Linked DNA regions of Homo sapiens: region 2 is linked to region 1. Evidence: promoter capture Hi-C in 16 types of primary human blood cells and fetal thymus (Javierre and others, 2016). All regions are on one chromosome and are shown on one strand. The core of a region is centred on a gene start or on the middle of the fragment in contact, and the rest is flanking DNA. Distances in the headings are between cores, read along the strand shown.

Region 1 (6,700 bases), core at 2,333-4,832:
TGCTGGGATTAGAGGTGTGAACCACCACAGCTGCCTTCTTTTAATTTGTATTTTCTATCTCTGCGGACAAGACTTCAAAGGTGTCTATCACATACTTTCAGATCTACTGATCATCCTCTGAAAACCAACATCGGGGTTCACAAAATGGATTTAACCAATTGGGCTCCCCAGTTCTTCTTCCAGACTCCACCCCTCCAACAGTGTCTCCAATGACTTCCTGGCATCACTGAACAGGTCCTTCACTTTGCCACCTCTGAGCCTTTGCTTGAGTGTTTTCTTTCCCCTGGAATATCCTTTCCAACCCTATACACCGACTGAGTCAAACCTTCTGTCTTCTTTTTGAGCATTTATGAGCTCCTATCATGAGCCATGCATTATGTAAGGGACCTTACAAACACAATCAGTCTATGTAACAATCCTGCCAAGTATGCTTTATTTTGGGCATGGGGAAACAGAGGCTCAAGAGAAGTGACCTGCCCCAGGTTTCAGTGCCAGCACACTAGTAGAGCTGGGATTTGAACCCAGGTTTGTCTTTTGCACTGGATTCAGCTTCCTTGCAGACCGCAGCACCTCACATACAGCCCTTCACTGACCAGCAATTGGAGGGAAACCACCCCTGTGGCTTAAAACCTGTGGTGCCACAGATCATTCCACTCAGTCAAACCCCCAAGACCGTAGAAGTGCATTTAACACAGCAGCTCCTAGGCACAGGATTGTCACCTCAGGGCATATGACTTCTAAAGTTGCAGATTATAAACTTGTTCTCTTTCCCTGTCCTCAGGCTCCCGCTGAAGTAACCCAGACGCCAGGGATATCTCTGCCCGCTCCACTCTGACTCTAGTGCTCAATGTGCCTGCCAGGCCTTGCTAGGGATGCTGTGCCAGTGTGAAGAGGAAGGTGGTCTCCAGCTCTCACCCCATAGAAGCTTTCTGCCTCAGTTTCCCTAACCTGGAACACCACAATGACTCCTGAATTGAAAAACACTGCTTACAGCATCTAGGCTAAAATTGGCAGAATACCTGGGCTCCAAGCCAGGGAGATTTGGAGCGATGGGGAGGTGCAAGAGCACAGCCAGACAGAGCCAAAAGCAATAATATCCTGTTTGTTCCTACACTGCCCTCCGCATTAAAAAAACAACGACAGCTACATCAAGCCCTTTTGTTAAGTGGCCACAAGCTGTACATTTCTTGGTCCCAGGCAGGTATACTGGGAGTTCAGATCCTGGTCTTAATGCTCTTCTCTGGTTCTGTGACATCCTAGAATGTGAAGAGGAGGCCTTGGGTTCTGTCACTGCCTCCAGCCCGAGCCCCCTGCTCTTCCTGGGCATCCCGGATGGACCATGTCTGCCTTTCTGCTGACTCAGATTTATTTCTGGTCCAGCCATTCACAGCGTCCATGTGTCTGAACTCCTCAGCCAGAGGGCAGGTGGAAGGGCAGGAGGAGGACCACGTGTCAGCTTTCCATCCAGAGAGCCACCCCAAAACAGAGGATGTCCTTGGGCTTGGACCAGCTCCACAGAACACTCTGAACAAATTCTCACGATGCCAGGCTCCTAGGCCGCAGAAAATGCCTGTCTCCTCCCAGTTCTAAGATAGCAAAGGGTGTGCGTTACCTCAAAACCACTTAGTACGCAGCCAACCTTAATGGGCACTCTTGGCATTACTGTTCTACTCAGCAAATAGACAGTCCTAGGCAGGAAGGAGATATTTAGAATCCTACTCTGTAAAACAGAGGCCTTTCCTAGGCCTCCTGTGATGAAGGCATGGGACCGTTACCAGACTTTGTCCCTCAAGGGTAAATTGTTTTCAAGAAAACAGGAAGCTAGGAGCCATCTAGTCCTTTGAAGTGCTGTGAAGTGGGCTGCCTTCTTCCCCGCCCAAGGGAGGGAGTCTCTGAGGCTTCCTGGCAAGGGTTAGTGTGACCTCCAGCAGTCACCTTCAGCATGGGTTGCTGCTGGATTCCTGGCTCTGTGGGCAGGAGCTCCCAGAATGCTTGACACAGACTCTACGTGGCTTCCTTTGGGAAGACAAATGGAGCCTGCTGTAGGCTATGGCAGAGATGGAGGCCCAGGGCCTCTGAGCTAGGGGCAAAGTCAGTCTCCCTCCTGTGTCTGAAACCCCAGGACTCCCCATTCTGTATGGTACTCCCCCCGACCCAACCCACAGTTTCCTTAGGAAAACTGACCTGCCTATGGCCCATTTCCTAATGATATGATTTGGTCATGAGGCTGGCAGAGTCCATGGGGTGCATGTGGCACTCCTGTGCTTTGCTGTGACAGTGCCTTAACCCACAGGCGTGATTAACTCCAAAGTCTGGGGTCTTTGGAAAAGGTGCCTATCAATGCAGAGGAAGTGAAGTGCTCAGACCGCCAAACAAGGCCAAGAGCCTCCCGGAAGAGCCTGCCTGTCAGGAAGTCTCTGGCCACATGCTGTGGCCATGCTCGCCTCTATGAGAGGACAGAGAGAACAGACCAAGGACACGAGTTCAGAACAGAGAAAATGTGAGAGCCGTAGACAGGAAAAGCAGCCCTTCTGGAAACAGCACACTGGTGTACCTAGCGTAACCTTGTCCTGAGGGCCACTAACTGCCCCTCACTTGACTCAGCTGACACTGTGAGGGGTCACGAGCCTGGCAACACTTTCTGGAAGGTCTAAAGGGCAGCACTGAGGAGACCTAAAGGTTTTGGTCTGTTTGTCAAATGTCACTCTTCCTCACATTCGGAGGAGAGCATTTGAAGGCAGACCACTCTAGGGGCAAGAACAGGACTGATTTTAACCCCGGGACAACCAACCAAGCAAGCAAGCTAGTGAAGAACAGGCCTCTGCCCAGGTGAAACACGTGGGGCCAATTCCATAGGTTTTTTTTTTTTTTTTTTTTTTTTTAATTAACCTCCGGTGGGAAAGGTAAGGATGGTGGGGAGGGGAGACGGTTACTTGTCTCATTATCAATGTGTTAGTATTAGTGACGGCAAAACTGAATCTCTAGCAATACTATTTGCCCGTTTAAACTGGGCCTGGCTATTGGGCTTATGAGCAAATAGCTTCTCAAAATTTTAATTTTCTAGTTAGTTCATCCCAAGTCACTGATTTACATGTCTTTTGAGACTGAGACTGCTGGGGAAAAACATTCCCAGAAATGAGTGGATTAGACTCTGTGAATTACAAGGGAAAGACACTTTAAGTTTAAAGTTGTCCCAAACTTAGCGTCAAAATACAGCCTTTAGATTTTTTTTTCCATCGAGAAAAATTCCTGATTCACTACCAAAAAGAGGCCCTGCAGGCAGCGTGCTGATTTGTTCTGCTCCTGGTGCTGAGCTGCCCCCACCTGTGTGCAGGGAGGAGGGGTCGCTTCGGCCAAGGGCGGGAGCTCTGCTGGCTTTAGCGAGTCACCATTGCCTCCTCGCAGTCAGCGTCCTAACGGGGTCCCCGTCTACAGCCCGGCATCCACTCCTCCAAGGCCCTTCACACTGGCTCTAGCCATGACCCCTCTTTGGAGGAATAAAGCAGAGTTTCACGGACTCACCGACCTTGAAGCCGGAGCCTCCCACGTCCTGCTGAGCGCACACAGCCAAGAAGTGTATGCAGGGCGAGCTGGTCGGGCCGGCCTGGAAATCCTCCCTGGCGGGGCGGGGCCAGAGGACCTCACCAATCCCAGCGTAGACCTCCGGGCGCACCGGCCCCCACAGCTGTACCCTTGAAGGCAGGCCCGTGGGCGCTGGGCCCTTTATAGCACCTGCCCTTTCTCTGAAACGTAAAAGGCGGAGCCAGTCTTGCTTCCCAGGCCTGGTCCTGGAGGCTCCTTTGCCAGGGCTCTGGATCTCAGAATGGAAGGGCCAGCAGGTGAAATTGCACATCTGTTGGGGGATTTGTTTCTCTCTTCTCTCAGGTGTACCAGCCTTGGGGCCCTGGTGAGCTCTGGAGGATGAACCCCTCAAGCCAAGGTCGGAGAGGAGGATGTCTCAAGCTGCCTGGCTCCAGCAGCTGACCGGGCCCTGAGCCAGGGGCTGGAGGGACCTCCTTCCAGCGTCTTTGTCTGGGACCTGGATCCAGGGACAATTACAGTCAGGTTTCTGTTCAAGATCAGGCCCCCTGCAGTAGATGGCTAGATCATCTCGCTTTCTGTCCACACCAGCTTAACCCACGGCAGGCCATAGCCCTGCTTAAAAATAGCCCCGCTTGGGATATCCACCGCACGCCGGGAAGGCTGCCTGTAAATAGCAATGACCCAGCAGGATTTTGGACAGCAGCCCTGCCATTTCAAGGGAGCCTGCCTAGGCATCTGGTGACCGTCACGTACTCAGCTTCTGAGGCCACGTGGACATGACCAATTGGTTCCTGTCTCTTCCTTCTCAGAGCCCAGCTCATGCTCAGAGGACTTGATGGAGCAAGGGGTGGAGCCCCAGGAATAACCTTCTACCCAGTGTGGTTCTCCTTCATTCTCTGAAGGAGTTTCCATTTCTTTTAAACACGACCCATGTTTAAAAATATCATCTATTTTACCTTTGCATGGGGTACTGACAGGGAGAGCACGTGAGGGGGCCTTTTGGCGGGATGGGAAGTTTCCTGATTGGGGTGGTTATATAAAGATTGGGACCAATCAAATTAATTTCATAATCCTTTAAGGAGTCAAGACCCACCAGCTTGCATATTCTATCATCAGGGCAGTCTCGGTTTATTCCTTCTCAAAATAGCTCTTTTCCACACACACTTGTTTCAAGTCAGTTCAGGCACCAACTGAAATAAATCCATTGACCCTGAAATAGCCCAGCTCCCAGATCCAGAAAATTATAAGGCTTTTAAAGAGCATGGAATTGTAGATTTAAAGAATGGCAGTTATAGCAAAAACCTCCTTTTCCTCCCCAATTGCCTAATCAACATTTAGGGCCCCCTCCACTCACCCGACCTCAACACCTTATATTTTATAGAGTAAATGTTTATGTTAGTAAGGTCAGAAGAAAAATTGGGTCATTGTTGAGAAAAGAGGGTACCACCCTTCTTTTGGGGGACTGGTCCTCTTCAAGCTTATTATAAAGGTGGTGTGATGGGGATGAAATCTCTACAAGGGACTCACAGTAGAAATTCTGGCTTTCTGGAAATCTTTCAAATGCCATCCCTGTCACATGGCATCTATTCCCTTCTCATCGTTACCAACTCCTTTTGAAGCTCTGGGGCTCTAGCCACACCAGGCTGCCCTGTGGCTGGCTTCTGCCATAAGGGCAGGAACAGAATTGAAGTGTGCGACTGCCATATCATTTGCTTTAAAGGAAAATGTCCTGGACTTATTCTCTTTTCTGTTCCTGAGTCCAGCAGGAGTGTGGCTAGAGCAGGCCCCAGATTTGACCTCGAAGGCAAGGATGACGCCTTGTGGGATGAGCAAGTAATAGGATGAAAGGAACCTGGGTTCCTCTGTCGCACCAGCCTGGATTGCTCATTTCAGAATTGGGCAGGAGGGACCCCTTTCCTTAGTCTATTCTTGTGTCCAGCAACTGTAACTTAATTCCATCAGCTCTAAATGTTGCCACAACTTCATAGAAGTTAAAGTATTTTCATATATAGTAATCCATATAACCACTGCAGTTATTTTAGGGGTAGACAGGAGTCTTATTTCAGAAGCCCCTCCTAGGTGGAGCCTGGTGACTATTAGGCCAGGACTCTACCCTGGCGGCTTCTCCTCTCTCCACCACCCATTCAGGAGCGTTGAGCTGCTGTGCAATGGACTGAGCTGTTCCAGGTAGTAGTGAGTTCTCTGTGCCTGGAGGTATCAAATATAGGCTGGGGATGTCACAGGAAGAATCTAAGCACTGCAAAGAAAGTGTGATTAGTTGATCCTTCGTATCATTTCAAAGCTTTCCCCAAATTCTTTGAATTTTAGGGCCTCTTCTAAACTGTTTTTCTCCCTGAACTTTAGAAGTAATATTTAGAAGTAAATAATATATCTGAAGGAGTTCACTGCTATGAAGAAGATGTAAAATAAAAATAAAGCCCCTAGGCCCCCAAGCAAAACAAAACAGACTCATTGTGGTAAAAAGAGACCCCAGGAAACATTAAAAACCAGATTCTACAGCTTTGGCAAGGCAAGAGGTCAGTCACACCCAACGCTCTCCCACCTCGATAACTGCCTCAAGACTTTCTTTCCTAAAATTAAACTAAAACCAGTTACTGAAAAACTATGTCTGGAAGATTTCTTCCTCAACTTCAACAGACAACCTGACGTGGCGAACCCCCCCTTCCCTCAACGCAGTTTCCCCCTGACAAGTGTTCAGCCTTACAAAGCACTCCATCCTCATAACTGACCACAGACCACAGCCGGTTCTGGCCGGTTTACAGAGATTGCACACCAAGCGTCTTTGTGCCCTGTGTTCCATCTTTTGACATATAGAGCCCAATTTTACTACATTTTAAGTCTCCATCCCAAAGTGAACATGGGTTGTATGTAACATGTAACATATATGATTACTGGCTATGCATGCATTAGGGCCTCTCATAAATATTCATAAGATTATCCTATAACCTACTAAATGTATATGTAAGGCTCATCTTGTTGGGCATAAATCTCAGCCTCTCCCTTTTTTATCTGAAGTGCTTGCTTTTGGCTTTGGCCAGAGGCTCCAGCCTGCAGATTGTAACCCTTTATAAGAAATTAAGTTCTATTTTTTCTAAATGTATACATTTCATGGTTTTAAGTTGACAATGTAGAAAAA
Region 2 (6,651 bases), core at 2,922-5,421, 520 kb after region 1:
GGAGGGAGGTAATGAGAAGCTGGTTAATGGGTACAAGCATACAGTTAGATAGAAGGAATAAGTTCTAGTGTTTGATAGCACAGTAGGGTAGGACTACAGTTATCAATAGTTTATCATATATTTCAAAATAGCTAGAAGATATTAAATGTCTGACATAAAGAAATGTTGTGTCTGAGGTGACAGGTATCCTAAACACCTGATTTTATAATTATACATTGTATACACATATGAAAATATCACATGTACCCCATAAATATGTATAAATATTATGAATCAAGAATAAATATGTAAAAAAATATAAGTTTCTCAAAAAAGGTGTTAGGCACAGTGGCTCACACCCGTAATCACAGCTACTCAGGAGGCTGTGGCAGGAGGATCGCTTGAGGCCAGGAGTTTGAGACAAGCCTGGCAACAGAGCAAAACCCAATCTCTGCAAAAACAAAAAAAAGATAGTTGTCAGATACTATCATAAAAGACACAGGAGAGAAATAAAAAAAAAGACTTCCATTTAGAGCACTTCAACAAGTTTTCTTTTAAGAATCGACCTTTAGAACAAAAAAATCATAAAGAGGAATTACTCTAAATAAAAGTTTACTGAGGAATTTTCTATCTAATAAAGAAATAAATATAAAGCAGTTGAAAGATAGGTGTGGGGTAGGGAAAACTAGCATTTTTTATTAGTCAACACAATTCTGAAATAGAGTCTATATAATGCTTTTAAACATTCACAGGCATTTCTACCAGCTACTCTTATGGCTCATAGTGAATGGCAGAATGATCACTTTTAAAAATGCTTAGCAGACATTTATGGAGTGCCTACTGCACGTTACCCCTCAAGCCCTTGTACCACACTGCTGCCAGAGAGAGCACTAAAGATGAAGACATTGCACTTGCCCTCTGACTCCTTCAATAGCTCCCCATTTCTGTGATCAGGAAAAGTGCTTCCATATATGATATGGTTGGAATTTGTGTCCCTGCCCAAATCTCGTATCAAATTGTAATCCCCAGTGCTGGAGCAGGGACCTGGTGGGAGGTGACTGGATCATGGGAGTGGACTTCCCCCTTGCTGTTCTTGTGATAGTGAGTGAGTTCTCATGAGATCTGGTTGTTTGAAAGTGTATGGCACCTCCCCCTCTCTCTTCCTCCTGCTCCAGCCATGTAGGACTTGCCTGCTTCCCCTTCACCTTCTGCCACGACTGTAAGTTTCCTGAGGCCTCCCCAGCCATGCTTCCTGTGCAGCCTATGGAACCCTGAACCAATTAAACCTCTTTTCTTTATAAATTACCCAGTCTCAGGTAGTTCTTTATAGCAGTGCAAGAACAAACTAATACAACAGAGCACATCTAAAATTCTCTAACAAAACAAATACCACCCCCCACCCACCACTGTCATAGAGCTTACTTTCTAGTAGGATTAAGCAGAAAATAGTAAAGAAAAATAATAATAATGTTAAAAAGTAATTTTTTATGGTGATCTGACTCCCTCACCTTCCTCAGGTCTCCATTCAAGTCATCATCTCAGTGAAACTTTCCCCGATCACCTGGTGTGAAATGGCTCTGCTCACTAGGATCCATGAGGATGGGAACTTTTGTCAGTGTTATTTCTGCTGTATTCAATGCCTGGAACAGTGCCTAGTATAAAACAGGTACTCAACCTATAAAGTAGTGCTGAATAAAGGAATGAATGAGTACAAGTTCCAGAACTACGGCTCTCCTTGCTGTGGGCGGCATTATTCCCATTTTAAAAATGAGTAAATTGAACTTGAGACATTAAGTACAATGTCCAAAGTAATGAAGAGATAACAGATTAACAGATATTCAAACCAAGAGTAGCTAGGTCCAAAGGCTTTATCTGTTCTACTACAAGCCTAGGCAGGCATAAGCTGATTCAGGAAGAAACCTAAGAGGGAGGATATTCTCCCATCTGTGGTGCTGAAGAAGGATTTTTCTACCTTAATCCACTAGAGAGAGAGAGTATCGGACTAACTACTGCAAAGTTCTTATCAATTTTTATCTTCCTGTAGACTTCCTCAATACCTGGATTTTTAGAAGTCTGCAATAAAGTTTATTTAGCAACTCAAAAACGAATGACCTTACATGAGCTCCACAATGTTTTTAGACAAGTTCCTAGAGTGAACACAAGAGGCAGCTGGTTACTCAATTACAGTTCTAATTAAAATTTTGTTTGATAAGCAGATAAGGATTTAGAAACCCATTAAGTTTGATAAAAATGGACTTGTCACTTATCCTTGAGGCTTTCCTGGAAGCTTTACAAGAATGTTAAATTCATCGTTCTGCAATCTGTATATTAAACCATCTTCACATAAATATTTTTTCAAACTGGTTAAAGTTATAAAATCTCCTATCTCTATTTTCCTGGATTTCTTAATTAAAGAACGTTATGATAAATTCAAATCACTGTATCTCTGAAACAAAAGTCTATTTGGGCCAGACGTGGTGGCTCATACCTGTAATCTCAGCACTTTGGGAGGCTCAGGAGGGCGGATCACCTGAGGTCAGGAGTTCCAGACCTACCTGGCCAACATGGTGAAACCCTGTCTCTACTAAAAATACAAAAATGAGCCGAGTGTGATGGTGGGCACCTATAATCCTAGCTACTCGGGAGGCTGAGGCAGGAGAATCGCTTGAACCCGGGAGGCGGAGGTTACAGTGAGCCAAGATTGCACCACCACACTCTAGCCTGGGTGACAGAGTGAGACTCCATCTCAAAAAAAAAAAAAAAAAAAAAAAGTCTATTTGAAATTCTGCACACATGCCTAGCATCCTACCAGAATTCTGTCACATAGATTTTAGGAAAATTTCTACTTTAACCTTTTCATATGTAACATGCCTCTCTGTTGCTGAAGGTATTTTTTGAAAAATTAAAGGGTAATAAACCTTGCAGAACTGTCAGTCTTGATTTCCTCAAACTGTAGTCTGTGGGACACCGGCATCAGAGTCACCTGCAAAGAAGTACAGATTCCCACCCGAAAGGTGCTAAATCTGAATTCAGCAGGAAGTTAGAGGAGAGCGAGCATTTTCAACAGGTTTCCTGGGGTGAGTCACAGGCAAACTGCAGACTTAAGAATAGCAGGCGACAAGAACAATACCGGTAGCCACCATAGGACTGGAGTAAAAATGGATGGAAATCTGCTCCAAAGACATGTATCCAATGGTAGTCTATGATTCACCTGCTTTATTAGAGGTGGACAGTAAATACCACTGCATCAAAAAAATTAAGTTATCTATGATTATATAATTGACCCAGATCTAAAAAATTATAAAACCACATTCCCTTGACCGCTACAGAGGCTATTTGTGCTGTGGGGCTGAAGCCTCCTGAATGGAGAGGAGCATGAACAGAAGATGTGCTCCTCCCAAGGTGGCAACCTCCCTTCTGTCCTTGTTGGTGGGACTCACAACAAGACAGTCATCTCGGTCTCTCAGTCATTACACAGGGCATGCCAAGCTAGACGGTTAAATTAAAGCTTCTAATTTTAAAAAAAAGAAATCCTTTTCACATGTAACATGCCTCTCTGTTGCCTACCATATTGCTTTTGAAAAACTAAATGCTCTCTCAGCAAGTGTTGAGCCCACATTAAAACAAGGGAACTTCAGAACCAATAATATCTTTTAATGTCTGCTTGGAAATAAAACTGGTGACTCTCTGGCATCAAATAACAGACCACCAACAGAGACTCTGAACTAATGTTCAACTGTGAACAAACAAATGTCAGCTTACCAATTGCATGATCTATACCGACTTTAGAAACTCATAGACAAAAAGAGCCTTGTTAAAGGTGGACAGTATCCTCTGGGAAAACTTACAAGGCCCCCTCTGACAGTGAACTCATTGGTAATAATAGCACTGATGAGTTCCAAGCCGAGTAATTCATTCTCTCCTCTGAAGACAGAATGAAACAGGGTTCTTGACTGAGTAGGACAGACAAGGTAACCTGGCTTTAATATCTCCATATTAGAATTACTATGAAACTCATTAATTTTATCAGTGCTCACAGTAGGGAACAACCACCACTTTCTTAGAAGACTAAGGGCATTATTTGAAATTATAATTCTAAAACCAACCACCAGGACAAAACCAACAAAAAAAAAAGATGCAAAGAAAACAGATCACATCGTGAAAGATTATTTAAAAGATATAAAAATAGAAAATATAACACAAAATAGTATAAACTAATATCAAATATATCTGACATATTAAAGGGCTAAATTCACCTATTAAAAGAAAATTAAATTCAGATTGGATCACAGAGGGGAAAAAAACCCCAAAATTCTATGCTACAAATAGGAGTGCAATCCAAAACAAAGTAATTCAGAAAGGTTACAAATTAAAAAGATGGCTGAAAAACAACAACTGCCTAGAGGTATATATTAGGTGAATACAAATAAAAAGAAAGTATGAGATCAAATCTTATTACCAGGAAAAATAAAATTCGAATAAAAACCATTAAAACAGGACAATGAAGGGTGTTTTTATAATAGTAAAAGGGACAGGATGGAAGAAACTCTTTACCTCATAATCTTTTTAAAATACTTTCCATTTTTTGAACTAAAATATACAACTTATTAAAAAATAAAATGGCATATTAGAAAAGAGAAAGAAGAGAAAAAATGGATTACAGGATTTATACAGGAGCTCCCAGAAGGAGATGCTGGTCCTCTTCCCTGGACTAGAACCCTGGAGGCTGGGAGTCAGGACAGAGCACTGGAGCATCCTGCCACCTTGTGGAACACCAGGAGGCAGCCATCACAGGAGGAGAGGAAAGAGCAGAGCCCCTACAACCAGCCATGCCCAATTCCAGCCATGCCTGATTCCAGCCTGCCTTCAAGCTTTTCACTTACGAGCCAACAGCTTCATTTTCAACTAAAATTTTTTTCAATAAAAACTCATTAGAAAGTGTAGTGCTGGCCGGGCGTGGTGGCTCACACCTGTAATCCCAGCACTGTGGGAGGCCGAGACAGGTGGATCACTTGAGGTCAGGAGTTCAACACGAGCCTGGCCCACATGGTGAAACCCTGTCTCTACTAAAAATACAAAAATAGCTGGGTATGGTGGTGCAGGCCTGTAGTCCCAGCCACTCAGGGGGCTAAGGCAGGAGAATCGCTTGAACCCAGGAGGCGGAGGTTGCAGTGAGCCGAGATGACACCATTGTACTCCAGCCTGGGCAACAGAATGAGACACCATGTCAAAAAAAAGAAAAAAAAGAAGAAAAAAAGAAAATGTGCTGTCTTCAAAAAGGGGTCTCCTGCTGTCCAGAGAAGGAAATAGACACAATCGCATAGCTTCTTAGAAGGATGGCAGCCCCTACTGAAGTCCACATGGCCAACAGTGAACCAAGGTGAGGAAGACCCAGTTTGACAGTCAGCTGGTGAGTCCTCCTCGGAATGAGCCAACAGGAAGACACAGCACCTGTGGGAGGTTCTGGAGGCCCAAAAAACCCCTCCTTACCAACAGAGGCGAAAGGGCCTTAGCCAACTTACCACAAGGGACTGAAAACTAAAAGCAGATGTAGGGCCCACGCTTCTTCAGGCTTAAAGAGGCCTGAGGTGAAGAAACACACCAGGACCTATCCGCAAAGGAGAGGCCTGTTTGGGAGCAAGGGAGGATTGAGAATTTCCCCACTATGGGAACTCCATGGGGCCTCAGACTCAAGGCTAGCACAATGAGAGCTGGGCTGTTCAAAAGGCTAAGAGAGACAGGAGGTATTACCATAAGGCAGAAAGTCTATACTAGGTAAACTCGTGTTGTTCTAAAACTTTTTTTCTAGTTTTTTCTACACTTTTGATTATACCTTTGCTTCTTTTGTAATGGTTGGTTTTGGTTTTGTTTTTAAAGGTAAAATTCTAACAAAAAAATTCTAGTCTGTCTTGGCAAACCTGATGGGAAAGTACTTCTGTCTGCAATGAGGTTAAAAACACTAAGAGGATCAGCGTGCAACTTGGAAACCAAAGGAAAGGGGAACACTCGAAGGGGGAGGGAATGGCAGAGAAGTCAAGGGCTGAGAGAAGCCACTCATTTCTGCCTGTTGTCATCATCGTCCAGCTCTTGGTTCTTGATCCTAGAAATCTTTTCTAAGGACAGAACTCCTTAGTAATAATATTTTAAAACCCCTATCCTTTCGTAATCTTTCAGCCCCTCACAATCCCAAGTCTTTTTACCACGAATCTACACATACTATACCCCAGACCTGTGCACATATTCTCAGTTAACAAGCAGGTCAAGGCTCACCTCCTCTAAGATGCTTTCCCAGAAGAATAACCACATGTAAAGACAACCCATGCTTTCTGCTGGATACCAGGGCTGTGGTTTGTAAAGAAATACCTTCATAAATAAAGCTGCTTTGTTTTAAGCACAGATGCTTTGTCAGAAACTTTACCACCAGAGAGAAATTCAGACTGTAATATGCATTATAAGGGAAAGAAATTTCATAAAATATTAACCAAAATAATTTTAATTGTGCTATAAAATATTACCCCTTTTGCAGTCAAAAGTAAAGGTGAAGGAAGGGAATAGCTGCTCCCTTCTGTGTTTTTCCTGAGAGGCTGTATGACATAGTGTGCTTTAGAGCCAGGAAGTCTGTATCAACTTCCAGTTTTGCCACTTAGTAATTGTATAACCTAGACAAGCTAC

Evidence for each region. Contacts are between HindIII fragments. The CHiCAGO score rates a contact against its expected background, and 5 or more counts as called.
Region 2: a contact is called between a fragment that was not itself captured here and the fragment with the promoter of CKMT2 in region 1, in 2 of 17 cell types (endothelial precursors and M1 macrophages). The highest score is 5.6, in endothelial precursors.

Annotation. Positions count from the first base shown.
Region 1 is chr5:81,230,204-81,236,903 of GRCh38, reverse strand. It overlaps CKMT2 (creatine kinase, mitochondrial 2), which reads right to left and starts at 3,582. Exons shown (of 10, transcript NM_001099735.2): 1 at 3,527-3,582. The HindIII fragment of the contact is 4,095 bases long and covers 928-5,022 here.
Region 2 is chr5:80,710,230-80,716,880 of GRCh38, reverse strand. All of the region lies in intron 8 of MSH3 (mutS homolog 3), which reads right to left. Among named protein-coding and RNA genes, the nearest start is that of DHFR, 59 kb to the right of the region's middle. The HindIII fragment of the contact is 1,363 bases long and covers 3,490-4,852 here.